Regions from separate parts of the Homo sapiens genome. Here all the other regions are linked to region 3. Evidence: promoter capture Hi-C in human tissues and cell types (Jung and others, 2019). All regions are on one chromosome and are shown on one strand. The core of a region is centred on a gene start or on the middle of the fragment in contact, and the rest is flanking DNA. Distances in the headings are between cores, read along the strand shown.

Region 1 (4,469 bases), core at 1,970-4,469, 450 kb after region 3:
TTGTCCACCTCGTCTATACTGCCTTTCACCAGCCCCACCGAAAGGGCCTTCATCACCAGAAGCTCCACCTGTGCAGAGAGGGAGGCGTGTGTAAGACAAGATAGCCTGACACACCCCCATGGACCCAGATGGCTTGTGAGAAGCAGATGCCGCTCCTCCCGTCATTTTTTACTGTCTAGGGAGCACAGCGCTCACACAAGAGCCTTGACTCCTCCATGTGGCAGCTTTGCTGCTCTAACACCCTGAGCCTAGGGACCGTACCTCATTCACTGTGATTTTAGCACTTTTGGCAATTTCTTCAAAAGTGAGTTGTCTGTGATTGGCAGGTCGTGTGAAAGTCATCTGGAAAAAATTTTATTAACTATTTTAAACTATTTTTCCAAATAAAAATAGAGAACTGATAAGGATGTTTTGTCAATATTGGCTCTGAAAATAGAGATCTTATTAGTACCCCACATACTAAAAAGTTTCCTAATATTAGACATATATCTTGTTAAGAACAAGCTTTTAATGCTTAGATAAGAAGGATAACAGCAAAATGCCTTACAGGAGTTTCTGACAGTAGCCATTGTTCAATCCCCGAACAAGTACTTGAGGCCACAATTTGCCAGGGTTGACCAGGGGTGACCACGGCAAACCAGAAATCTAAGGGCCACTTCCTGACGAAGCTTAAGTTCTAGTGGGGAAAGACAGATGTGCGTGTACACAAGAAGCGACATGCAATGAGGCAACAACTGCATCACGGGGAGAGGGGCAGCTACTTCATCTCAGTTCAGATGGTCAGGGAAGGCCTCAGGGTGGTGGCAGTGGGGTGGGAGGGTGTCGTCTGAGCTAAGAGCCAAATATAAACTTAGAAGAGCAAGTGGTAGCAAAGGAAAAGGAAGGTGGTGAAGAGAGCGGCGCACAGCAGAAGCAGCACCACTGAAAGCTCACACTGCTCAGCACAGGCTTGGAGAGTGCAGCGCCCCCACCTGACCAAAATCTGAAACCACAGACAAAGTGGCTCCTGGGTGTTCGCTTACCTCCATGAGGCACAACAACTGAATTTTCCTCAGAAGCTGGGCTTCATTAGCTGCTAAATCAGGCTGTAAAGTATAGAAAGACAGAAAAATGTCTTCCATGTTTGTGCTTATCAGTTACTTAACTGGGGATCTGGAATTCGTTCTATAACAGTAGACCCAACAAAAACCAGCTAAGCAGATCCAAACATTTCACATTGCAGACTGCTGAAGCTCATTAACAACAAGTGATCTGAGCTTCATTCTTCTTAGGAAATGGAAAGAGTCGCACCTAACTGGGACACTTTGTCAAGGCAAGGAATTTACAAGGTAAGATTTGTATTAATGCTACAGACACCATTAGGCAGGGCCACAGGGTACGGGCATTTCGAGAAGACTCTCCTGGTCAAGGTGCTGTTGGGAAGGATACACCCTACTGCCCAGGGGGGTTCTTTCAAGGGCTGCTGCCGGCTCAGTGAGCCAGTGCAAGTGGAGCCCCTCTGAGGAAAAGCTTCCTTAAGTTCTAGAGACTTGTTCTGAATCAAAAGAGCAAGTTATTAATTTATAATGAAAAATATCATTGTCCTGAGAACTAGAATATACGCTTCTGCAAGATATGCATCATCTCTTCTTATGGATCAAAACGTTACCTGTGAGCACAGAATTAAACCAAGGAGACTTGTTGTTTTAATTCAAATAGCAACTCATATCCTGACACAGGTAGCCCCGATGGGGACATTTCTGCCACAAGTACTGGACAGGTCAAGCTCTGTAAAGGGCTCACTACCCCTCCAGACAGGCTTTGCTGCCTGAATAGATGCTGCCAACATGCATCTACGATTTTTTTTTTTTCTTTAAATTGCTATAACTAGCCATCTTCCTTTCTGAGTGTCACCTTTTTTTGAGATATCAATAAATAATCAGACCACAGTTAGGTCTGGCTGCATCTGTGCTTTCTGCCTCTTCACAGTGCCTTCATCTATATCTACCCTGCTCCACTATGCATGAATTTTACAAGTTTATTTTAAACTGAGAAAATTGAAAGTTTCAGAAAAATACAAAAATAACCATAATTCCTACCACAGTTAACATTTTATTAATATTTACTTCTAATAATCTCATTAAAAAAGAACATACTTATCATTAAAGCTCAAGCCCTTGTTGAGCACCTTTCCCTAACTCCCACCTTCCAGAGACAACTTCACCCAGTGCCTGCCCTCCCCTTGCACTGAGGTGAATTGGCTGTTCTCCCTGCATGGACCTCTCCCTCTCCCCGCACCCGCCGCTCTCCCCCTCCCCGCACCCGCCGCTCTCCCCCTCCCCGCACCCGCCGCTCTCCCCCTCCCTGCACCCACCGCTCTCCCATTCTCTTCACCAGGCATTTGTTCCTCCTTCATCCCATGCTCTCTCCCACCCACTCATGTTAGCCTCACACATCCCTCTTTCAGTTCAGCAAAGATACTAAACTTTTCCGTTTTCTCCGCTGAGTGCACTCTTCCCGTACCTCTTCACTCATTCCTAAGGTCACACAGACCTTAGGTCACTATGACTTCTACATCTTCTGTGACACCCCCTCCACCCAGCGTAGATGCAGGGCCCACATTCGATTCTGTTTTCTCAGAACACCCTCACTCTTTGTCTGCAGCACTGAGTAATGCTGTAGCTAACCAACCACTTAACTCTCTGCTCTATGAGAGCAAGGACTAGCCTATCTTGGTCTCCTCTTTGCCCTGTTCTTTCCTGTGTGCCTAGGGAAGACGCTCAATGAACATCTGTTGTATGAGCGAGTAGATACATGGGGGAATAAGGGCTGGGCATCGTGGGAGTCCTACCTGCTGGCCCCAGGCAGTCTTCAGAGTCTGGAACCGCTCTACGTTGCCACTGTTGAAGGCATAGAGGGTGTCAATCAGCCACTGCCGGTCAGTATTCCTCAGGGACTCCAGCACAGGGTGCATGAGCTGTGAGGATGGAGATGGTCAGCTAGTAACACTTTAGTCTCTCTCGTTAAGGAAGCTGAGCTCAGGGTCAACTTACGAGTTCTCCAAAGTTAAAAACTCCCTCGCCGAGAAGTCCTGCTAGCCCCAGCGTGAAGGCTCTCTCCTGCTGCTCAGACACTATGGTAGCAACACAGGCCCACTTACAATCCAGTCATAATAATCAGTCCTGTTTAGCTTTAAAAATCTCATATAACAAAAAGTAAAAAAACATTGTTTGTAATGGTTGTTATTACAAAGCCTTGACATTAGTCACCTCTTCTGAAGTATTGGGTTGACTTAGATTATACCAAGAACCATATATACATGGGTTTTTTGGGAGGAGCATTCATTTATTTTTTCCTAAATATATGTGAATCTATTCATATTTTCAGCTGTGCCACTTCCAGGAAGTGCCTTAAATCTCTTTTCTGCTATGGCAAGGAATAAATTTAAGTTACCTAACCTAGCTTCTTTTCAGACCAGAACTAACTTACTTTCTGTTCCTAGACAGCAAGTCTATTGTTCTCTTGACCACCTTAGTTCCTTTTCCGATATATTTTTCTTGACATACAGTAATAAAAACTGCATCAACACTGTTAAGAGTTGCTGGTCTCCTTAGCTTCAACAGTGTTTTGTGAGAAACATCTAAAATATGCTGAAAATTTATTTTCTGAACATATATTCCTTACACTTTTTCCAAAACTCACAGGTCATTTTCTTTCCACTCTCAAATCCTTGAAAGATTTAATAATTTGTCCCCATGGGTCTGGAATTTCAGTTTTCAAAACAAGGGTCTCAGCTACAGGGATTTCACGTGCCCTTTATTCTGCAGCAGAGGGGTGGGCGGGGAGGGCTCAGAAGGTGTTGGCGTCATGGTGCTTCCTACAAATACCTGTGGCTTAGGTAACAGTGAGGGACTGGAGAAGGGACAGTGAAGGAGCGAGGAGGAATTAGCCTCATTTTCATGTAAATTAAATGCTGGAGACAAATATAATGTAGAAACTAAAGGTTACACAAATCTTCCCATTTTTTTCTTCAAAACAGGATGAATCCATCTGAGTAATTTCTTTTTTGTTTGGATGAGATGGAGTCTCGCTCTGTCACCCAGGCTGGGGTGCAGTGGTACAATCTTGGCTCACTGCAACCTCCACCTCCCGAGTTCAAGTGATTCTCCTGCCTCAGACTCCTGAGTAACTGGGATTACAGGCACCCACCATCACACCTGGCTAGTTTTTTGTATTTTTAGTAGAGACAGGGTTTCACCATGTTGGCCAGGCTGGTCTCGAACTCCTGACCTCAGGTGATCCACTCACTTCAGCCTTCCAAAGTGCTGGGATTACAGGCGTGAGCCACCGTGCCCAGCCCCACCTTAGTAATTTCTGAGAACTGTCACCTCAAGCAACTCACAGATGCTAAGTTTGGAGAATATGCTCCTGTGTGACATGGATTTAATGGCCTAGGTTACCTGGTAGATCCTTGATGTCAACACAGCCCA
Region 2 (4,343 bases), core at 817-3,316, 470 kb after region 3:
ATGAATTTTCTTTTATTTCTTCTGCTTAAAATTTGTAGGCCAGTTGGTCATGGTGGCTCACGCCCGTAATCCCAGTACTTTGGGAGGCCGGGTGGGTGGATCGCCTGAGGTCAGGAGTTTGAGACCAGCCTGACCAACATGGAGAAACCCCATATCTACTAAAAATACAAAATTAGCCGGGCGTGATGGTGCATGCCTATAATCTCAGATACTCGGGAGGCTGAGGCAGGCGAATTGCTTGAACCAGGGAGGCGGAGGTTGCGGTGAGCTGAGATTAGGCCATTGCACTCCAGCCTGGGAAACAAGAGCGAAACTCCATCTCAAAAAAAAAAAAATAATAATAATAATTGTAGGCCTTCCTTAAGAAAAATAAAATAAAATTCTAGGCTGGGCGCGGTGGCTCCTGCCTGTAATCCCAGTACTTTGGGAAGCTGAGGCGGGTGGATCACCTGAGTTAGGAGTTTGAGACCAGCCTGGCCAACATGGTGAAACCCCGTCTCTACTAAAAATACAAAGATGAGCCATTTGTGGTGGCACCCATCTGTAATCCCAGCTACTCGGGAGGCTGAGGCAGGAGAATTGCTGGAACCCAGGAGGCAGAAGTTGTAGTGAACCGAGATCATGCCACTGCACTCCAGCCTGGGTGACAGAGCGAGATGCCATCTCAAAAAAATAAAATATAAAATAAAATTCTAAGCCCTGCAACCAACTGAATGGAGCCCTCCCCTTGGTCAAGGGAACCCCAGAGAAACCTTGGAAGCTTGAGTTCCTGGCCGTAGCAGGAGAGGAGGTCAGACGCGCCTCACTGTACCCCTCCCTCCCCAGCCACCATTAGGCTTCTTCACTAAGGGCTAAACAGAAACCAGCCCTTTTCAAAGACTCTACACTGCTAATGTGGATTACTGGTTTATCTTCCCAGATACAGATTAAAGACAAGATGAGATTAATGGTTCCTTCACCCTTCCCTGAGAGGTCTGCTTAGTTCTCTTCCTCTGTTTCCTTCTATCTTAGGTAAAATGTACATTTACTGGGCACTTACTGAAGTCTCACAAGTACGTAACCACTCACCTCACAGCCACCCTCCCTCTTTGAAGGACCACATGTAATTACTAAACCTCCTGAGAACCTCTTGGGACAGAAACAAGCACAGATGTGCCGTGACTCATGTTTTTCCTGTGGGCACCCTCAGGCTGGCTCAGTAGCCCTCACTTGCTTGAGATCCTGAATCTGCGGGTTGGCGTCTTTCATGGTTGCTGGATCATACTCTGCCGTTATCTCTTCGGATATGAGTTGCCCCTAGCCCACTATCTGGCCCCTCTCTTTAGGGACCTCTGATTGAACATACATTAGACCTTCTCTCTCCTGCTGTTCCTGATCACTCTTCTGTCCTGTAATTGCTGCTTCTTGTGCTGCATTCTGGGTAATTTCTTCTGGTCTTTTTTCCAGTTTACTAATATTGTATTCTGTTATAAGGTCCTTCCATTGAGTGTTTCTTTCTTTCTTTTTTCCCAAACAGCAACTCAAAACAGACATTGAGTTTTAATTTTGGTTCCTGTACTTTTTATTTCTAGAAGTTCTATTTGGTTATTTTTCAAGTCTGCTACATTATTACATAATTTTTTAATAATTTTATATCTTTAATAGATAGTTTTTTGTTTTGTTTTGTTTTGTTTTGTTTTTTGAGACAGAGTCTCGCTTTGTTGCCCAGGCTGGAGTGCAGTGGTGCAATCTCAGCTCACAGCAACCTCCGCCTCCCAGGTTCAAGTGATTCCCCTGCCTCAGCCTCCCAAGTAGCTGGGATTACAGGCACGCATCACCACGCCTGGCTAATTTTTTGTGTTTTAGTAGAGACAGGGTTTCACCATGTTGGCCAAGACAGTCTCGATCTCCTGACCTCGTGATCTGCCCACCTCGGCCTCCCGAAGTCCTGGGATTACAGAGCTGAGCCACTGCGCCTGGCCTTTGATAGATATTTCAAGTTCATCTTTTTTTTTTGCTTCCTTAATTTTTTTTTTTGCTATACCCCATGCCTCCAAGATAACAGTTTTTTCTTTTTAATTTAAATATAATACAGTTTTACTGTGTATCCAAGAATATCTGAAATCTTTCGTGGGTCTCTTTCTTTTGTCTTTTGTATCTGTTGCTTTTTGCTGGGCTGAGCCTGCTTAAAACAAGCCCCGTTAGCTGTAAAGGTTTACCTTAGAAAGTCAGGTGTCTTCCTCTGTAACTCTCTCCCTTTTCCATCTGCTCCAAGGCATTTATTTATATTAATCTTGACGCAAAGGGAAGTTGTGTCCACTTCACCTTGGCCAGTAAGGAAGCAGTGTTTGGCAGATGTTGTTACTCCTAATAATGCCAGCCAGTGAGTGAAGCTGACCTGAATGCCTCCCAGGGCTGAGGCAATGGCATGATCACCGAAGCTCAAACCAGAGACAGTTTCACCTTTCTGACTGAATAGTGTTCGGTGTAGGCCAAATGCCTGCAGACTACTGTTTGAGGACTGGTGTGGTCTACCAGGTGTTTCCTTAGCGCCTGGATGTCTCTGGCTGCCATCCCAGGGATAGAGCATGGTGTTAGATACGCTAGATGCCTGCCGAAGTAATTATGGGTGAAACATATGATGTCCAAGATTTGCTTTTAAAGGCTCCAATACCTCCTCCCAGATTCCGGAGGGCTGTGAAACAATTAGCTATGAAAACTGGTAATTCCTGAAGCTGGGTACATGGGGGTTCATGATCCCTCTCTCACCTTTTTTGGGGGAGAATGTTTGAGACTTTAATAAGAACTTGTTGCCTTTTCCTTTTACAGGGTGTTGCAGGCATCTTCCTCAGGCCTGTTTTCTCTGTTTTCCAGGCTGACGTGATGGCAGACAGGGTTCCCCGCTGCCCGGTCTGCACCGGCGTTGTGAAGCCCGACATTGTGTTCTTTGGGGAGCCGCTGCCCCAGAGGTTCTTGCTGCATGTGGTTGATTTCCCCATGGCAGATCTGCTGCTCATCCTTGGGACCTCCCTGGAGGTTTGTCAGCAGGCCTGTGCAGGGAGGAGGCTGGAGGGCAGGGGAAGGGAGGGGTACAGGAGTCATCTCATGGGCTGTCGGCAGGCCTGTGCAGGGAGGAGTCTGGAGGGCAGGGGAAGGGAGGGGTACAGGAGTCACCTCATGGGCTGTCGGCAGGCCTGTGCAGGGAGGAGGCTGGAGGGCAGGGGAAGGGAGGGGTACAGGAGTCATCTCATGGGCTGTCGGCAGGCCTGTGCAGGGAGGAGGCTGGAGGGCAGGGGAAGGGAGGGGTACAGGAGTCATCTCATGGGCCCTTCCAGGGCTGGTGCCACTTTGGGAAGGTGAATGGATTCAGCTGGGGTTCCAGGCTGAGGGAGCAGCAGCCTGTGCAGGAGACAGGAAGGTGGGAAGCTGCTGGGCTTTGGAGGTGGTATAGGTGTGGGTGGGGCACCACGTGTGAGGAGAAGGGAGAAGGATGGGGGTGTGGGGGCGAGGTGGAGGGGCAGGGCCTCCCAGGTCAGATCAGGAATACTGATGCTGCAGTGGGAGGAGTGATAAATCCACAGGGACTGGCCCGGGGACGTAGCTGCACCCTTGGGGTCAGGGAGGCCTTTGGGGAGTGGAGAGTGGAGCAAGCAGTGCCAGGAGGCTGGTCCTGGAGAAGGTGGAGCTGTGGTCGCCTGAGGGATGGCGAGGAGGGGGACTGGACTCGCAGTCTGTGATGTTTTGGGGACGTGAGAAGGAGGCGTCTGGCTTGGTCTGTAAGGTCAGGGCACTTGCTGGTGAGGCGTGATTTGGGAGGGAGGATGCCCAGCTCGGTTCTGTGTGTGTCTGAGGTGTCGGGAAACATGCCCTGGATGTGTTCAAGCAGCTGTTCTGCGTCTGCGTCTGCAGCTCAGGAAATTCCTAAAAGCTGTGATGAGAGCAAGAAATGAGACCATGAAGTCAGTGTGTGCGTGACTGGATGTAGGCACCGAGGACAGAAGGGCCAGAAAGACCTGTGCTCAGAGGGGCCCAGGGCAGCCACAGGGGCCCAGAGCATGTGTTTGTTCAGGCATTCATTGTGTGCTGGGCCCTGCTCCAGTGCTTTGGACATACACGGTCAGATGTCAGTGTAAGAAGTTATATAGTTTGTTAGGAGATGATTGATGTTATGAGAAAGATAACAAGTAGGATAGAAAGGCTAGAAGGGTTGGGAACCAGCTGCAGTGTCAAGTCAGGCAGGTGGAGTTGGATCTAAGAGTTTACCGAGGTGAGGAGGGTCTGGCAGGGGACACTGCACAGGTGACAAGCAGCAAGGAGGGTGGGGCGAAGTCAGCATTGATGGCCACGGGGCTGGAGCAGAGAAG
Region 3 (4,177 bases), core at 1,554-4,053:
AGCCTCTGTTCTATTTCCCCTTCAGCGCCAGGGAGGGCAGGACAGAAACCTGGCGTTGGTGAGATTTTGTGGCTGATCCCACAGCTTCTTGGGCAGATCTGGGGCCTTCTGTGCCAGAGTTTGTGGAATCTCACACAGGCAAGAGTTTTAAGCCAGTAAATACAGGACATCGGCATCAGAGACTCAGAACTGGGCTCCTGGAAGAGGCACCACAGGATGGAAGCAGGAAGCCAAGTGCACGGCAGACCACGCCGCATCGCGTTCCCGGCAGGCCACTCTTTAAACCCGATCTGTTCTTTTCCAGGCCTTAGCTAAACCAGGCCACCTAAATACCTGTCATTATCTGTGATGATTTCGCATTAATTGGGGTTTTTGTCCCTTCTGTTCCTTTTCTTAAAGGCTGGCTTCTTAAACACTTCCAATGTGTCTGCTAGTTGCTCACTGTTATAGATTGAAGTTATGGGGCTTGGGGGAAAAACTGTATAAAAGCCTTAAGTGATGTAACATTTTAATAATTAATATGAAGGGCGGCTATAACCAGATACGCTGTTCTAACAATTCCAGACCTGCAGGAGCTCATTCTGACCGAACGTAGCCTTGGCTTTCAGGACAACATTTTTTGTCAGTGACTTACTATAATCACAATGTGGCTACGAATAGCTGTGTCAGGCAGAAGTTAAACATGGAAGTGAAAGAGAACAAGTGTTTTCCCTGATGTAATGGACAAGATGTGTTAAGAAATCTTGTTTTGGTATACACTTAGTTTTTTTAGAGACAGGGTTTTGCTCTGTTGCCCAGGCTGGAGTGCAGTGGCCTGATCACAGCTCACTGCAGTCTCAACCTCCTGGGCTCCAGTGATCCGCCAGCCTCAGCCTCCCACGTAGCTGGGACCACAGGCTCCCTGAGGTAATTTTTTTTTTTTTTGAGACAGAATTTCGCTCTTGTTGCCCAGGCTGCAGTGCAATGGTGCGATCTTGGCCAACTGCAACCTCCGCACCCCACCCCCCCCACCACCACCACCGGGTTCGAGCAATTCTCCTGCCTCAGACTCTCAAGTAGCTGGGATTACAGGCATGCACCATCACGCCAGGCTAATTTTGTATTTTTAGTAGAGACGGGGTTTCTCCATGTTGGTCAGGCTGGTCTTGAACCCTCGACCTCAGGTGATCCGCCCGCTTTGGCCTCCCAAAGTGCTGGGATTACAGGCGTGAGCTACTGCGCCTGGCCTTCCCCGGGGTAATTTTTAATTTTTTTTTTGTAGAAGGGGGTCTCGCTCTGTCGCCCAGGCTGGAGTGCAGTGGCGCCATCACGGCTCACTGCAACCTCGACCTCCTGGGCTCAAGTGATCCGCCAGCCTCAGCCTCCAGAATAGCTTGGCCCACAGGGGTGCGCCACCGCCTGGCTGATGTTTACAGTTTTTTTTTTATAGAGGGGGTCTTGCTATGTTGCCCAGGCTGGCCTCAAATGATCCTGCAGCCTCGGCTTCCCAAACTGTCAGGCTTACAGGCCTGAGCCACTGCGCCCAACCTAAACTTAATTTTTAACCAAATGAAAATACACAAAACAAACCTGGTTACTAGAGGCTGTCCTGCCTATGGAGTAGCCATTCTTTATTCCTTCAAAACAATGCACCTAATTACTAGAGAACACGCACGAAGGTTTGGCACTTCAGCGCCCGCGTATGGGAGTTCTGGCTGTACCCACAGACAGCAGAAGGCGGCTCCTCTGCAGGATGGCCGATTTACTGCTTTGGTCTGTCCCTTCCTCCTCTCGGAGGCGAGTCTCTCAGGCAGGACGGCTGAGGCACCGGCGCCCGCGATTTTCTTTGGCGAGAGTTCCAAGGCTACCGAAACCCTGCGCCCATCCCGCCCACGTGTCTTCACAAAAACCACGCGCGGGACAAGAGCTGCCGGGGACTGGGGCCCCCAGAGCCGCTCCGCACCCACCCTGCCCGGGGCCAGGCGCCCGCGCGCGGGGGAGCTCTTCGGGGTGCAGGACGCCCGCCACCCAGGCCAGGCCAGGCCGCGCTTCTCGATGGGGTGACGGAGCTGTCTCGCTCACGTAGAGACGGTGGCACGGCCCCGTGAGCGCACCGAAAGCGGAAACCGGATTGTCACCACAGGGAAACGCCGCGCCCGCCGCTGCAAGCCCGGAAGCCCCCACCCCGCCCGAGCTCACCTCGCCGCGGGGCCGCCATCTTACCCGCCCCGCCCGCCGGTCCGTCGCGATCCCGGCAGCCTCTCGGCCCGCGCGCTCGCGCTCCTTCGGCCATTTTCGCGTCTCCTGACGAAGGGGCCCGACCGCGCCGCGTTTCGGGAGCGGACGTCCGAGCCACGGCCGAGGCCCGATTAGTCCGTCCGGCACCGCTCGGGCACTTTCGGAAGGGAAGAGGTGGAGAACCGACGTTCGGGAGCATTCGGCCTCGGGGACATTCGGCTCGTCTCGGCTCGGCCTCGGGCTGACTCGGCTTCCGCCGGCGGCGGGAACGGGCGAAACCCGCGGCACTAAGCTCTCTCTGAGAGGCAGAATTGCGCCGGCCGCCGGCGAGAATCTGCCTAGAGCCGTCCAGCCCTGTCGGCCGGGGACGACAGCCGCCTCAGCCTGTCAGGACAGTGAGGAGAGCAGGGGCCGAGTCTCTCGGAAGCCCTCGTGAGGACTCGGACCTATTCGGACTGATTCGGCTTCCCACTTCGGGGAACTTCGACCCTCCTCGGTTCAGGACTCGGTCTCGGCTCGGCGGCTTCGTGCAGGTTCGGCTCCTACTCGGGCAGCCTCTGTTCGCCTCGGCTCCGCTCCGCGGGCGGACTCGGCTCGGCTCTGCTCGGCGGCTGGCTGCCTTTTCGGTCCCTATTCGGGCGGCGGCTTCGGGCGGCCTCGGCCCAGCTCGGGCGTCCTCTTCGGGCCCCGCTTCGGGCTCCGCGACCGGCGCTTCGGGCGGTCCCGGACGGCGCCTTCGGGAAGGCTCGGCGGAGTCCGGATGGAGGACTCGGACTCGGCGGCAAAGCAGCTGGGCCTGGCTGAGGCGGCGGCGGTGGCGGCCGCGGCCGCTGTGGCGGCGGCGGCCGCGGCCGCGGCAGGAGGCGAGGCGGAGGAGCCGGTGCTGAGCAGGGACGAGGACTCGGAGGAGGACGCAGACTCGGAGGCGGAGCGGGAGACGCCGCGGGTCACGGCAGTGGCGGTGATGGCGGCGGAGCCCGGGCACATGGACATGGGCGCCGAGGCCCTGCCCGGCCCCGACGAGGCCGCCGCTGCCGCAGCCTTCGCAGGCAAGTGCGCCCGCCGGCCTCTCGCCTCGTCCGGTTCCCGCGCGCCTACCCCGCGCGCCTGCCCCGCACAACTGTCCCAGGTGACCAGCCCGCCACACCTGTCCCTCACACCTGCTCCACGTGACCAGCCCGCTCCACCCGCCCTGCACACCTGCCCCTCACACCTGCTCCACGTGACCCGCCCGCCCCACCCGCCCTGCACACCTGCCCCACGTGACTAGCTCACCCCTCACATCTGCCTCTCACACCTGCCCCACCCGCCCCTCACACTTTCCCCACGTACCTGCTCCAGGTGACCAGCCTGCCCCACCTGCCACAAATACCTGCCTCGCACACCTGCTCGACGTTTCCAGCCTTCCCCACCTGCCCCACGTGATCGGCCTGCCCTACCTGCCCCGCACACCTGCCCCACATACCTGCCCCAGGTGACCAGCCTGCCCCACCTACCCCAAACACCTGCCCCGCACACCTGCCCCTGGTGACCTGCCTAGCCTCACCTGACCTGGCCCTGCCCTGCACACACCTGCCCCCTGCCCCCCTTTTCTTTGTGGCAGCCCCGCCTCCTACTGGTCCCCCCTGTGCAGCTCTGCCCCTGCCCTGCCTTCGTCCATCCTGGCTCCCCCCACCTGTCCTGGAGAAGCCCTGGGGTGGGTGGGCACCTGTGGTCACCAGGAACCCCCCACTTCCTGAGGGCCAGTTCAGGCATGACCTGAGCGCTGGGGAGCCAGGGGTGGGCAGCCTGCTGGAGGCCATGATGCCAGAGGTCAGCGTGGCTGTGTGGTGGCCCAGGGGGGCTGCGGAGCCACCTGTGCAGGCTCCCCTCCCAGTCCTCCCTCTTCCTCTTGCCTTTTTCCCTAAGGACCTGCTCCTCCTGCCCCGCTTCCTGTCGGGCTTCCTTTGGGGAGGCTGCT

What was found. Contacts are between HindIII fragments. The study calls those that stand out against the background at their distance.
Region 1: a fragment that was not itself captured here is called in contact with the fragment with the promoter of DEAF1 in region 3 in 1 of the 25 tissues and cell types used here (hippocampus).
Region 2: a fragment that was not itself captured here is called in contact with the fragment with the promoter of DEAF1 in region 3 in 1 of the 25 tissues and cell types used here (lymphoblastoid cells).

Annotation. Positions count from the first base shown.
Region 1 is chr11:247,419-251,887 of GRCh38, reverse strand. PSMD13 (proteasome 26S subunit, non-ATPase 13) reads right to left here. Exons shown (of 13, transcript NM_002817.4): 7 at 4,440-4,469; 8 at 3,033-3,112; 9 at 2,831-2,956; 10 at 1,023-1,085; 11 at 262-342; 12 at 1-68. Among named protein-coding and RNA genes, the nearest start is that of PSMD13, 13 kb to the right of the region's middle. The HindIII fragment of the contact is 4,260 bases long and covers 1,090-4,469 here.
Region 2 is chr11:222,750-227,092 of GRCh38, reverse strand. It overlaps SIRT3 (sirtuin 3), which reads left to right. Exons shown (of 7, transcript NM_012239.6): 5 at 2,854-3,015. Among named protein-coding and RNA genes, the nearest start is that of SIRT3, 11 kb to the left of the region's middle. The HindIII fragment of the contact is 4,124 bases long and covers 5-4,128 here.
Region 3 is chr11:693,848-698,024 of GRCh38, reverse strand. It overlaps DEAF1 (DEAF1 transcription factor), which reads left to right and starts at 2,803. Exons shown (of 12, transcript NM_021008.4): 1 at 2,803-3,266. The coding sequence starts at 2,978. TMEM80 (transmembrane protein 80) reads right to left here and starts at 2,209. Exons shown (of 5, transcript NM_001042463.3): 1 at 2,179-2,209. The coding sequence starts at 2,197. RefSeq lists enhancers at 665-1,204, 1,745-2,284, 2,285-2,826, 2,827-3,366 and silencers at 1,812-2,231, 2,732-3,031, 3,042-3,161, 3,182-3,431. The HindIII fragment of the contact is 41,051 bases long and covers 1-4,177 here.